2 separate regions of the Homo sapiens genome follow, and region 2 is linked to region 1. The links are contacts of gene promoters, found by promoter capture Hi-C in human tissues and cell types (Jung and others, 2019). All regions are on one chromosome and are shown on one strand. Each heading gives the region's core, a stretch centred on a gene start or on the middle of the fragment in contact. The rest is flanking DNA. Distances are from core to core; before and after follow the strand shown.

Region 1 (6,027 bases), core at 1,201-3,700:
ATGGCTCTGTCCTGCATGGCAGTCAGACCCAATGGTTATCTCCCTTGTTCCCTGAACATTGCTGTTATCCTGTTCTTTTTTCAAGGTGCCCAGATTTCATATTGTTCAAACACACATGCTTTACGAACAATTTGTGCAGTTAACGCAATCATCACAGGGTCCTGAGGCTACATACATCCTCAGTTTACAAAGATGACGGGATTAAGAGATTAAAGTAAAGACAGTCATAGGAAATTATGAGAGTATTGATTGGGGAAATGATAAATGTCCATGAACTCTTCACAATTTATGTTCAGAGACTGCAGTAAAGACAGGCGTAAGAAATTATGAAAGTATTAATTTAGGGAACCAATAAATGTCCGTGAAATCTTCACAATTTATGTTCTTCTGCCATGGCTTCAGCAATTCCCTCCATTCAGGGTCGCTGACTTCCCGCAACAGTTTCTAGGTTCTTTCCTCAACTCTCCAACTCTGTTGAATAGATGCTGTGGAGGAGAGGCCTGAATTTCATGGGGTAAAGTAGATTAGAGGACTTGAAGGTTAGGAGGTTAAGGTTAAGATTCTATGTGGGTAGAATCATGTGTGTACACAGCCCCTCCCCCCTCCTTTTTTTTTTTTTGACAGAGTTTTGCTCTTATTGACCAGGCTGGAGTGCAATGGAGTGATCTTGGCTCACTGCAACCTCTGCCTCATGGGTTCCAGCGATTCCCCTGCCTCAGCATCCCAAGTAGCTGGGATTACAGGCACTCACCACCACACCTGGCTAATTCTGTATTTGTAGTAGAGATGCGGTTTCACCATGTTGGTCAGGTTGGTCTTGAACTCTTGACCTCAGGTGATCCACCCACCTTGGCCTCCCAAAGTGCTGGGATTCCAGGTGTGAGCCACTATGCCTGTCCACAGTCCTTTTAGTATATGTGTGTGTTTCACATGTTTGTATTATATTGTTTTTCTCTCACAATCAATTATTTCTGGGCTGATGCAGGATTGAAAATAAGAAGATAAGTGAGTTCCCCACAGAAATGAATTGATTTCCTAGTTACAGCTTCATGACTGGGTGGTAGGAAGGAAAAGTAAAGGTGATATGATAATTTGCATAGATTGTACAAATTTGTGCAATTTGTAACTGCACAAATTGTTCGTAAAGCATGTGTGTTTACATACGGTTGTAGGGTTGTGGGTTTATAGGAATTAAATATGTTTGTTTTGCCATTGCCAGCCGCTGCCATTGCCAGCCACAGTTTCTCAATTATAAATGAAATAATTATTTAAAAGTAAATGGAAGAATGAAATAGAACACTCATTAGATTAGAAAATTGTTGGTTTAAGTGTATTGATGTGCATAGTGTTATGTGCAAGAGTAAAAAATACATTATTTAATTGTTTCCCTTCCTCCTCTTTTATTTTCTTGTCTACCCTCTGCTATTTGATGCTGTGAATTCTTTAATAATGTATTCAAGAGTTTAGCTTCATTTAAGGAGAGATTTATACAAGTCAGGGTAACTAAACTCCAGAGACGAAATAGCTTTTAACCACACATTCTTTTAAAGGCAACAATATGGAATGCCAATGCCAAAGAAATAATCTCTCTTTTGCACTGTCCTTAAGAGTTCTCTCCTTCTCTTTTCCTCTCCCTCACTCTTCTCTTCAAAATTCATGCCCTCCAGTCTTTAATCTTGCCAATTAATGGGATAATACGTGGCCACGTACACTCTGAATTATTCATGGCCCCTTCATTCTTTTTGCCAAACACCTTGTCAACCCCTGGAGTGAAGTGTTGCTTGTATCCTTTCTGGTGAAATTGAACTAGACCAGACATCATTTAATGTGGTGTCCTGCAGGAATGAGGACTGGGTTTCTAAAGAGAGAAACATTCCATTGTAGAATGAGTTGTCGATGGTATCAAGCTACTTTCAAGTGCTCCCCCAAAAGAAATAAAGAAACACGCAGAAATGCCAGTACATGTTGAACTGACAAAGCCAAGTTTGGATCTTTTAAGTGCAGAAACACATTATAGGCAGTCTCAGTTAGCACTGATTAAATTTTAAAATGGAATTTGTGTAGAGATCAGTACAATTTCCCTGGAGTTTTAGAAAAACGGCTACAAATCAATTGCCAAGTACAGCACTTTATAATAAGCTCACATTTGTAAAACCCATTAATTACCATAAGAAGATAAAATATTTTATTATTGTTTCCTTTATGTTTATAAGGTCATACAATCTCATTTTACTAACAGGGTCAACAATAAATGGCATTCAAGTAAGAGAAAGTTTCTCACCCTGTACTTACTTTCAGGTCAGCAGGTGCGGCTGAAACATCGCTGTTTTCTTTGTCCATTATTAGGCGTTTTGTGTGTGATCATCCAGGGGTGTCTCAAAGCCAGTTTTTGCCCCTTATATGCTCTCTTGAGAAGAATTGAGAGAACCGTCACCGCATTCAAGCTAGCTTTCAGAGGAGTGGAATCAATTTACCTCCACCGGGTTCAGTTCAGAAACTGAAGCCGCCTCATTGCTATATTGTAAATGTTAAAGGGACCTAGCACTCAGCTTTGCACCCCAAACTCAAGGATTCTCAATGTAACTTTCATAGGAGTCAGGCCTCTCAGAGTACAGCCAGCCTCAAGGCAAGGTTTTCTTATAAGAAACACAATCCTACAATCCAGTAACATTTAAAAATCATTATAATTTTTTTCTTGCATCTCCTAAAGAATATGAAGAGGTCTAATTTACAACCCTCAGCACCACATCTGAGAAGTCCTCACACCTCATTTCTCTTGCGTGGCATCTCTTGCCTGCTCCAGGAGACTCACTCTTCAGTCCTGCTCTCAACTCTCCAGCCATACTCTCTGAGAACTCATAATCCAAAGGGACTTTTTTCCATTTAGCTCCCCCTACTTCTTGCAGTCAGTCCTCAGTAAACCTGGGGCCCTTTCTGCTGTAAAGCCCCTGTTTCCATCTCTCCCATACTTCCCAATGTCAATCTGAATTAGATCCATGGTGGGAAGAATAATCCAATCCTGAGGGGCAGTGTCAGAATTTCTCTTAGCAGACGGGGAGAAAAAGGCAGGGATTGCTGGAACCTCATCACCCTGTGGGCACTGGGTGTCAACAGAAAGCTGATCTGTCACGCTTTAAAGGAGAAACACTGTTCTGCTGATCCAGACACAAACTTCAGCATCATTCACGGGCTGTGCATATGGCAAGTGAGAAACTGCCTGCTGAAAGTGGGGAAAGATTAGTTGAGTTGCTTCATACCTGAAATTTGATCTAACTTGGGGAAGATGAGACAGAATAACAAAAAAAAAAAAAAAAAAAAAAAAAGAATTAAGTCATGTACAAATTCGCCTCTTGGGTTTTGTTATTTATTATTCACATTGATGAAATTATTAATAATGGTTTAGACTTTATAATATTACTTTTAATGGCTCATCTTTCCAGTATTATTTCTCTACCTATTTCTAGAACTAACTCATATTTCACCAATATAAGTAAAATTTGTATACTTATCGGTGGCCATTGACAAAGACTCTCTTCTTGACCAAAGTGTTGTCAGGTTACTCTGAGCTCTCTTTTCAACTAGACCTTGTCCTTGGGCCTTGTCTTTGGCCCATCTGGTCAGTTTAGCAGGAATCCCCCCGCCTTGATATCTGATCACCCTTGATTTTGCTTTCTTTTTCTTTTCTTTCTTTCTTTCTTTCTTTTTTTTTTTTTTTTTTTTTTTGATTCAAGAGTGGCCTTGAAATACCCTTGATATCTGATCAAGTTCTTTATCCCCTACCCTTGATATGTAAGTCCTTGGCTGCCTGTAACAAGAATCCTGATTGGTCAGTTTAGCAAGGATGCCCCTTGGTGTTTCCCCTTAGTAATTTTCCAACCATGGACCCCCTCACTCTCTTCATTGACTACTAATCCCCAGCTTTCTTTGCTGTATTTGGAACTGAGTTCAGCTCTATATCGAATTCACTTTCTCCCGTTGCAACAGTGCTGAAGAAAATCTGTCTTTACAGCCTTTAACTAGTGTCCCCCCATCCTTTTTTCCCTTTCACACCACCAAGTGTGAAAAGTGGCAGCAAAATATCAGGAGGCTGTGTTAAATGTACCAAATTTAAAAGCAATCATAAAACCAACCAAAGGCTGCTTTTTCACTATCATCATGCCAGCAATTCTAAATAATGTCAGTGACAAAATACTCCTCTCTAAAAAAAAAAAAAAAAAAAAAATTGCCATGAGTTCTAAACAATCACTGCCACTACAACTGTTTGAATAATACTTATTTAAGTGTATAATGAGCAATTCCTATTATTCATTTTTTAGTAAGTGATGAATGTCATGCAGAAATTAATTTGGAAATCTCCCAACTGTAAAGTTGGTCTCAAACATGTTGTGGGTAACAACTATCTGGGGCCAGTGGTGCAGGTGGTAAAGGAATTTCCCAAGACAGTTGTAGGTAAAGAAAGGTAGATTTATTAGAGAAAGTAAGAAAATACATTGCAAGAGAGCAACAGGCAGATCAGCAAGAGAGGAGCTGGCTGCGAGGAGACAAAGGCTGGCTCGGGATTTTACAGGATGGTGCTTGTGCTCAAGAGGGCCACGTGGAGTGCTGATAATGCCAAGGTCACAATGAGCTAACTTGCATTTTTCTATCAGTCAAGGGTCTGGTGATTAGTCGGGTGCAGGAAGATTGTGAGTTATTTGAGTTACTTGTGCAGGAGGGCTACATGTCTTGGACCATGAAGAAAGGCAGACTTACAGCTCATTTGCTTTCTTCTTTTTGCTTTCCCCTGCTTCCACCAGCCCGACTCCTTTTCCCTAATTAGGACTCCACAGAATACAAGATGACTGTGACACATGTTCATTTCAAGAGTAAGCTTCTAATGGTCTGGAATCATTTGCACATACTTAGGGCAGAGTCCTTGCCTCCAGCAATCCCTGTGGGATTACATATTGCTGCATTTAAAGGGAAGGTTCAAAACAAGCAATAATAGCACAATGATTGTAAAGACCAAGAAACAGAATTTCAGTTATTTCATTTGTCCTTCTATGTGACCAATGAGTTAATTTATATTTAAAATTTAATACAGTTACAGGGTATGAATTGCAAGGTGTAATATTTTTATATGTAATATTCTGTATGCAGTATGTATTTTGTTAATTTTATTTTTGCTAGCATAATTATATATACAAAGTTGACTAAAATTTTTCACTTTTTTTCTCATCAATATTATTATTAGTTTTATTTCATGATTCCTCCTGAAAACAATTTTACTGTATAGGAGAAGAGATTGTTGAGAAATGATCCACTCCAAGGAGAAGCAGCCCCTGAGTAGCTGGGCAGCTTCTGTAGGGTCAACAGTGTGAAGGACCTACCACAGGGTGTCGTTGGCACCGCCTGGTAACTGGTGATTCCATCGGCCAGCAGAGCTCATACCCACATTCCCAGATTAGTCCACGGGGTCCAGGTACTACCTCGACTGTGGCTCTTCCAGATGCATGGAGGCTGCACCACCGCCCATGCCCTGAGTGCATGGTATCAGAGGCACAGGCCATACTTCTGCTGGAGCCAAGTGGTGCAGAGCCTGGGCCACTGCTCCAAGTAGCTGGGCCTCCCCACAGCTAACTATCCAGAATAAGTGGTAGATAACCTTCCAACTGGTGTATCCACATCATTTATCATGGTTGGGCCAGTTTGGAAGTGGAAATGTCCATAAGATGGTGGTGAACATAGGGTGGAATCCATACTGCAAAAATACCCAAAAAATCCACAAAAACTCCTACCATGCATGCCTTTAAAGAGGACTTCTGGCTGGGCACAGTGGCTCATACCTGTCATCCCAGCACTTTGAAAGGCCAAGGGAGGAGGATCACTTGAAGCCAGGAGTTTGAGACCAGCATGGGCAACCTAGCAAGATCCTGTTCGTACAAAAAAAAAAAAAAGCCAGGTGTGGTGGTTCGCCATTAGTCCTAGCTACTCTTTGGGAGGCTGAGGTAGTAGGATCTCATGGGCACAGGAGTTTGAGGCTGCAGT
Region 2 (6,027 bases), core at 1,583-4,082, 170 kb after region 1:
AGGTGGGCAGATCACCAAAGGTCAGGAGTCTGAGACCACCCTGGCCAATATGGCGAAACCCCATCACTATTAAAGTACAGAAATTAGCTGGGTGTGGTGGTGCATGCCTGTAATCCCAGCTACTCGGGAGGCTGAGGCAGGATAATCACTTGAACCTGGGAGGCCGAGGTTGCAGTGAGCTGGATCGCACCACTGTACTCCAGCCTGGGTGACAGAGCAACTCTGTCTCCAAAAAAAAAAAAAAAAAAAAAAAATGAGTGGGTGGGGTAGGTTTCTAAAATATTGTAAAGTAAAAATAATAATTATGATAATATCATATCTTCATTACTTAGCAGCTGATTGTGCAGAATGAGTATTATAAAACACTTAATTTTTCCCTTCCATGCTATCTACCTTTTGACCACTTACTGCTTGAAAGAAGGGAAATAACTTGAACAAGTCAAGATAAACAATTGACTAAGTTTAATTTAATTTTAATCAATGCTTTTTTTTTAATAACTCTGGCCAAAAGATCTAATAAAGGAAATGGTTACGTTAGGATGTTATTTTTATTACAGTGGCCAATCTAGTAGAAAGAACACTGGATAGGCTGCCAGGGAAGCAAGTCAGAAGATCCATCTTAGTTCTGGTTCTGCTAACAGAACTAAGATCTGGAGCACGTCAATTCGCCTGTCTTCATTTTGTTTCAACAGGAGTTTCTCCATACTCAACATGGTGAGAGTGAACTACATGTTCTTTCTGCTCCAACTTTCTGGACTCCCACAGATACTGGTTAAATAACACAGGAGTGCTCATTACATAATGCAGGAAATGGAAATGACCACAGAACAGAAATAGTTTTAGTGATAAGGTGGCAGCTACCTAATTGGGAAAAGATTTCACCGGACTGTTGCCCATGACATTCCAAAGGCATGGTAAATTGTTTTAGCATAACATAGTGGGAAAAAGGCCTGGTCAGAGTTATGGTAATGTAATATAATATGGGTATTTGATTGAGCATGATGTATAAGAAAGGTTTTGTCTGCATTCCCATGGCTTGCAGTTTCCTTAATAAATCTTAAGCTGTTTTTGAAAAGCTACTTCTGCAATGACGTAAGCAGTGAGGCAGCCAGACATCACTTCTCAATCCCCTCTGAATATCTCTTGGCTGTGCGGCACTATTCACACTGGGTCTGCACTGGTCAAAAGAATGTAGGAGCTGGGTTTCTTTTGCCTTTATCTTTCCTTGTTTTAGCAGTAGGGTGGTCAAGAAAGAAATCTTGGAAAACTCTTGTAATCTTTAACTTTTTTGCTATTTCATAGGCTAGTTCCATGAACATACTGCCATCTAGGGCAGTCACATGCAATGTGCAAACAAAACATTCTAAGATGATCAACACCAATTCCCACTGAATTAGCAGCAAGTCTCAGAAAAAGCTGACCTGGCTTAAGGCCATCGATAAACAGTGGCATACACAATATTTTCTTTCCTTTTACTTTGTAAAGTAAGGAAAAGCACTTCATCTAATAAAATCAACCTAACACACTAAACAAGTATCTCCTGTAAAAATCCTCTCAAAAACTTTTTGACTAACCCTGTTACTCTATATCTTATTAATCTGTTTCTTTGTATAGCAATTACCTACAACCTCTAGTTTCCCACACAACAGTAAAATGATTTTTACACTTGGGTTTCTCTTATTGACCACTAGCTGCTATAGACAACTATCTTGCCTTTAAAGCAGATACAGCACAAAGCTCCTTTTCTGCAATGTCTAAGAAACATCCTTAAGCGTCATGAAAACAACTGTAAGCAAATTAACTCCCAGAAGGTTCAAATTCCTGGATGAACATAGAGAGAAGTTCTGCCTTGCTAAATGTTTACTTTGAAGGGATTTGAAAATCTGAGCTAACAATTTTGGTTTCATTTATTTTTAAAAGACAAGTTACTTTAATCAAATCCCAATAAATATTTCTAGCCAACAGTTATTTTTTTAAAAACTACTCCTGTCTCCTCTCCCATCATCTGAAAAACAGTAACAAGAATGGCCAGATGAAAGATGATAATGAAAAGACTGCTACACCCCTTTTGCATAGTACCTGCGGGGGGGCAGATCCCTTAAAAGGGCTATCACTCTTGAGTCATTTCTAAATATATCACTATGTACTTGGCTTTGAGGTGCACCCTTTGGCTAGTTGTCAAAATGATAAGAAACTATCTTAACACTTTTCAGAGGTTTTATGTCTCCCACCAAAGGCATACTAAAAACTTTCCTATATGGCCAGAACCTGTCAGATTTGAGTATTAGATAAAATAACTACCACAGGAGGACAGCTTGGCACCCAGAACTAGAATCTATAATCATGAGCCTAATGGCTAACCATAGCAATGTAAACAGGAGAGTATACATGTTTGTAATTAATCAGGCTATGGTGTACAACTTTTCTGATAATCATAAACTCATTAAGGTAACTCCTTTCTATAAACAGCCATTCACAAATACCATGCTTTTTAAACTCTCCCAAGTAATTAACAATAACTTTCTTTACTATCATTTTCTTTCCCATTAGGTAAACACATGGAATGGTAGAGACTGTGGGTGCAGGAGAAAGTACAATAGAACAGGAGGCTTGCAGATTCTGCCGCTATCTAACCCAGTTAGTTGGTTGGAGGGAAAAGATTCAGATAAGAGGATTTCTAAGGTTCCTTTTACCCCCATAGTTATTTTGTTCTACATGCTGAAAGAATAGCTAAGCTTGAATTGTCTTCTGATTCTTAATCCTAGTTCTATGCAATTGAATTTATATTAGATATCCCCTCATCAGCTTATGAATTTCTCCCACAATTTCCCCAACACTTGCTCATTTCCATATATGCCAGGTGTCTTTTTTTCTTCCATACTCAGGAGGCCTCTGTAATTCTCCCTTCTGTCCAAGCCAGCCCTATCCATTCATGTACTCTACTCTTAACCGATAAGGCAGGGAGGAACAGAAAATCTCAAATGTTCTGTTTTGTACCTGGATTCAAAAGCAACATCTGCTATGTCTGTGGAACCATCTGTTGCCTACTTTGCCATGGAAAGGACAGTACAGGCATCAGAAGTGGAGTGTCACAGGTCATATAATGGAATTACCCCTTTCTGGGACTGGGGCACCCAGGCACGTGCCCCACAGTCTCTATGGCTAATGCCACCCCTCCCCCATCGAAGCATTTATTTATTTTCTCACAGGGAATGGTGCTTTGAAACTTTTACACAAGGTCAGGTCCAGTGTGTTTTGTTTTTTGTTCCCATTTGCCTGAATCTCTATTTTAAAATTTTTAACTCCTGGGTTGTACCTAGAACTTTGTCTGCCCGCCCTTAGCTCGCTTGAGACCTTATGAGTCCTAAAGCTCTGAGTGTCTCAGTTTTTTACATCTATAAAAAGAAGGGGTAGAAATTAAGTGATCTCTGAGGCTCCCTTGTGCTCTAATGCTCCCAAATCCCATGACTTTAATCCATCTCAAAGTTGTCAATGAACACAAGTTCCTCGACCTCTATGGTATATTAAGACTCTAAATGGCAAGGACAAAAGAATCTGCTGCATACAAAACGGCTTCTATGATAAGGGTCTCTTGTTTAACACAGTTAAACAAGTTTCTTGAGGATCCAAATCAGATTAAGATGCCTAATCTTGTTAACCTACTCCCCCAGGCAATACTGTAGTGCAGGGTTTGGGGCTGCATAATTGTTTTTGTGTCCCGTGCATGGCAGGGTGCTTAACCGCATCCCAGGCCTCTACCCACTATATGGCAGTAGCACTCTCCTCCTGTCAGTTGCTACAACCAAAAATACGTTGCCAGTATCCTCTGGGGGCCAAAACCCCTCTCCCAGTGAAAACCACAGCTCTAATGTATGTCAGGACTTTAAGATAAAGCACATCACTTAGGTGTTTTTGTTTCAAAAGAGTGACATTTACACAATCAACAATTGGTACACCAAGACTTTACAGATAGATTCATAAGGCACAGGTACTCCACCTAGAAAATGTACAAAGCCACTGTCACTCTAAGCCATCCACAGCACCATAGCACTGCCTCCCTGCTAAGGGTTGAAAATCAGGATATAAAGCCATAACGTTAACTACTCCTTTAAAAATATTTAAAAGGAGACCGGGTGTGGTGGCTCATGCCTGTAATCCCAGTACTTTGGGAGGCCAAGGCAGGTGGATCACCTGAGGTTAAGAGTTTGAGACCAGCCTGACCAACATGGCAAAATCCTGTCACTACTAAAAATAGAAAAATTAGCCAGGTGTGGTGGCAGGCGCCTGTAATCCCAGCTACTCGGGAGGCTGAGGCAGGAAAATGGCTTGAACCAAGGAGGCAGAAGTTGTAGTGAGCCGAGGTAACTTCTCCAATGAACTCGAGAGTCAACCCTTGCTTATAGATCTCAAAATGGAGCTTTGAAGAAAATAGGGAAAACCAGAGATTGGTTAATCACTTTGGCTTATTTTTTCCTCTCTTGCATACACAACAAACACACATGGTAAATAAAACGTTTCTGGAAAGGTTGCTAACGAGTTTCAGCTTGGTCACAGTTATTGAACGGAGGAGTAAGCAAGCTCTCAGTCCAATTTCCCAAGTATCTTTTCCTCCCCTTTTCAAACAGGGATCCAGGCGACACTCGTGGCAGACGATCTCAACACCAAAAGAACAGCAGCTGCCAGCTGCATAAAACAGATTGAGGCCTGCAAATTGACTGAAATGATGACTACTCTTAACCAGACATCTCATTTTTCCACTTCTGACAGGCTGAGATCTGCAAACCTCTGGGTCTCAAGAGATGAAGGCTACATTAGCCAACTAAGACGACAAACTCAACTCTTCCTTGTCATTAAATAATTTGCCAGTTATAAATGGTTTGGTAACTTTACAGAATTTAAGTACATGTAATGTTTAAATTTCCCCATTAAATGTAAGAGGCAAAGAAAATCCTTTTAAATAACTAAGCAGAGGATATGAAAGGGGAGCCAAGAATAGACAGAACTGTTACTTTTCAAAGAACCTTCGCTCTTTATTCAAACAAATATTTACACAATTGAAGGCAACGGCAAGAGAGATATAGCCATTCTGTTAAAATAGTGGGCAACTCTAACGGTTTATTTATCCCAAATCCGACAGTTCTGTTGCTAACCTACCAGGAACCAAGAATTCAAGTGTTCACAGGGCAAAAGTTTAACCTTCTGAAACTGTGGACCTCATTTAGATCTCTCCCAGCCGAATTCAAACGTTAGAATCCCAGAGACATATCTCGAACGCCCAAATTAAACCAAACTAGGAAGCTTAAAATTACACGTCCAATACTTGAAAACCTACATCTGTAACTTACACGTTCATATTACGAAGGGAAATGTGGCTGACAAATATTTACACTAAAAAGACTCCACATTTTTATGCCTCGTCTAGTTACACTCCCAGCTGTGCCTGGCTATGACTAGTTGTGCATTCTAGAGCTCTTTAGAGCTACTTCAGAGTTGCAGGATAAAGATTTCTAGGGAAGAGGGCAGGGCCAGGCGCCCGGAGGATTTCCAGCCACGGGTAGTTTACCGAGAGAAAAAGCTGCGGGCGTCGCTCCCTCTTTTACATAAGAAAGGTAAGTGAGGAACCGCGAAGCAGTTTGACTTCTCAAGCTCTTTCAAACAGGAAACCCCAACCCTGGGAGGGACAGCCTGTCAGCCTTTTAATTTCCTGGTGGTGGCGGGAGTTAGCCAGGTCCTCGGCGCTTTAATAAGTGATGACTGCTAGGGCTAAGTTATTAAGCGAACCAGCAAACGATTCAGCTGCGCCTCCGCCGCGCAGGGAGCTGGAGAAACAGAGGGTTAAAATACTCCCCAAGCCTTCCAGCTGCTATCTCTAGGGGTGCCGAGACGGCCACACTGTAAACTTTCAGTGGGGGGTCAAAGGCCAAATCGAAATCAGCCGCTTTTGGCGGTTAAAGCTCGTAGGTTCACTCTTGAAAGAAAGTGGAACTAGAAGCGCAGCTAGCCAAATATTTGCGGGGAGGGAGTCTT

The links. The method cuts DNA at HindIII sites, captures the fragments that hold promoters and counts their contacts. A contact is called where the count stands out against the background at its distance.
Region 2: a contact is called between a fragment that was not itself captured here and the fragment with the promoter of TMPRSS7 in region 1, in 1 of the 25 tissues and cell types used here (bladder).

The regions. Positions count from the first base shown.
Region 1 is chr3:112,031,159-112,037,185 of GRCh38, reverse strand. It overlaps TMPRSS7 (transmembrane serine protease 7), which reads right to left and starts at 2,450. Exons shown (of 18, transcript NM_001395507.1): 1 at 2,293-2,450. The coding sequence starts at 2,340. It also overlaps the pseudogene LOC124906250. The HindIII fragment of the contact is 15,104 bases long and covers 1-6,027 here.
Region 2 is chr3:111,860,242-111,866,268 of GRCh38, reverse strand. The region is part of intron 1 of PHLDB2 (pleckstrin homology like domain family B member 2); the gene reads right to left. LOC105374040 (a long non-coding RNA gene) reads left to right here and starts at 5,453. Exons shown (of 4, transcript XR_924333.4): 1 at 5,453-5,609. RefSeq lists enhancers at 5,571-5,680, 6,011-6,027. The HindIII fragment of the contact is 7,266 bases long and covers 1-6,027 here.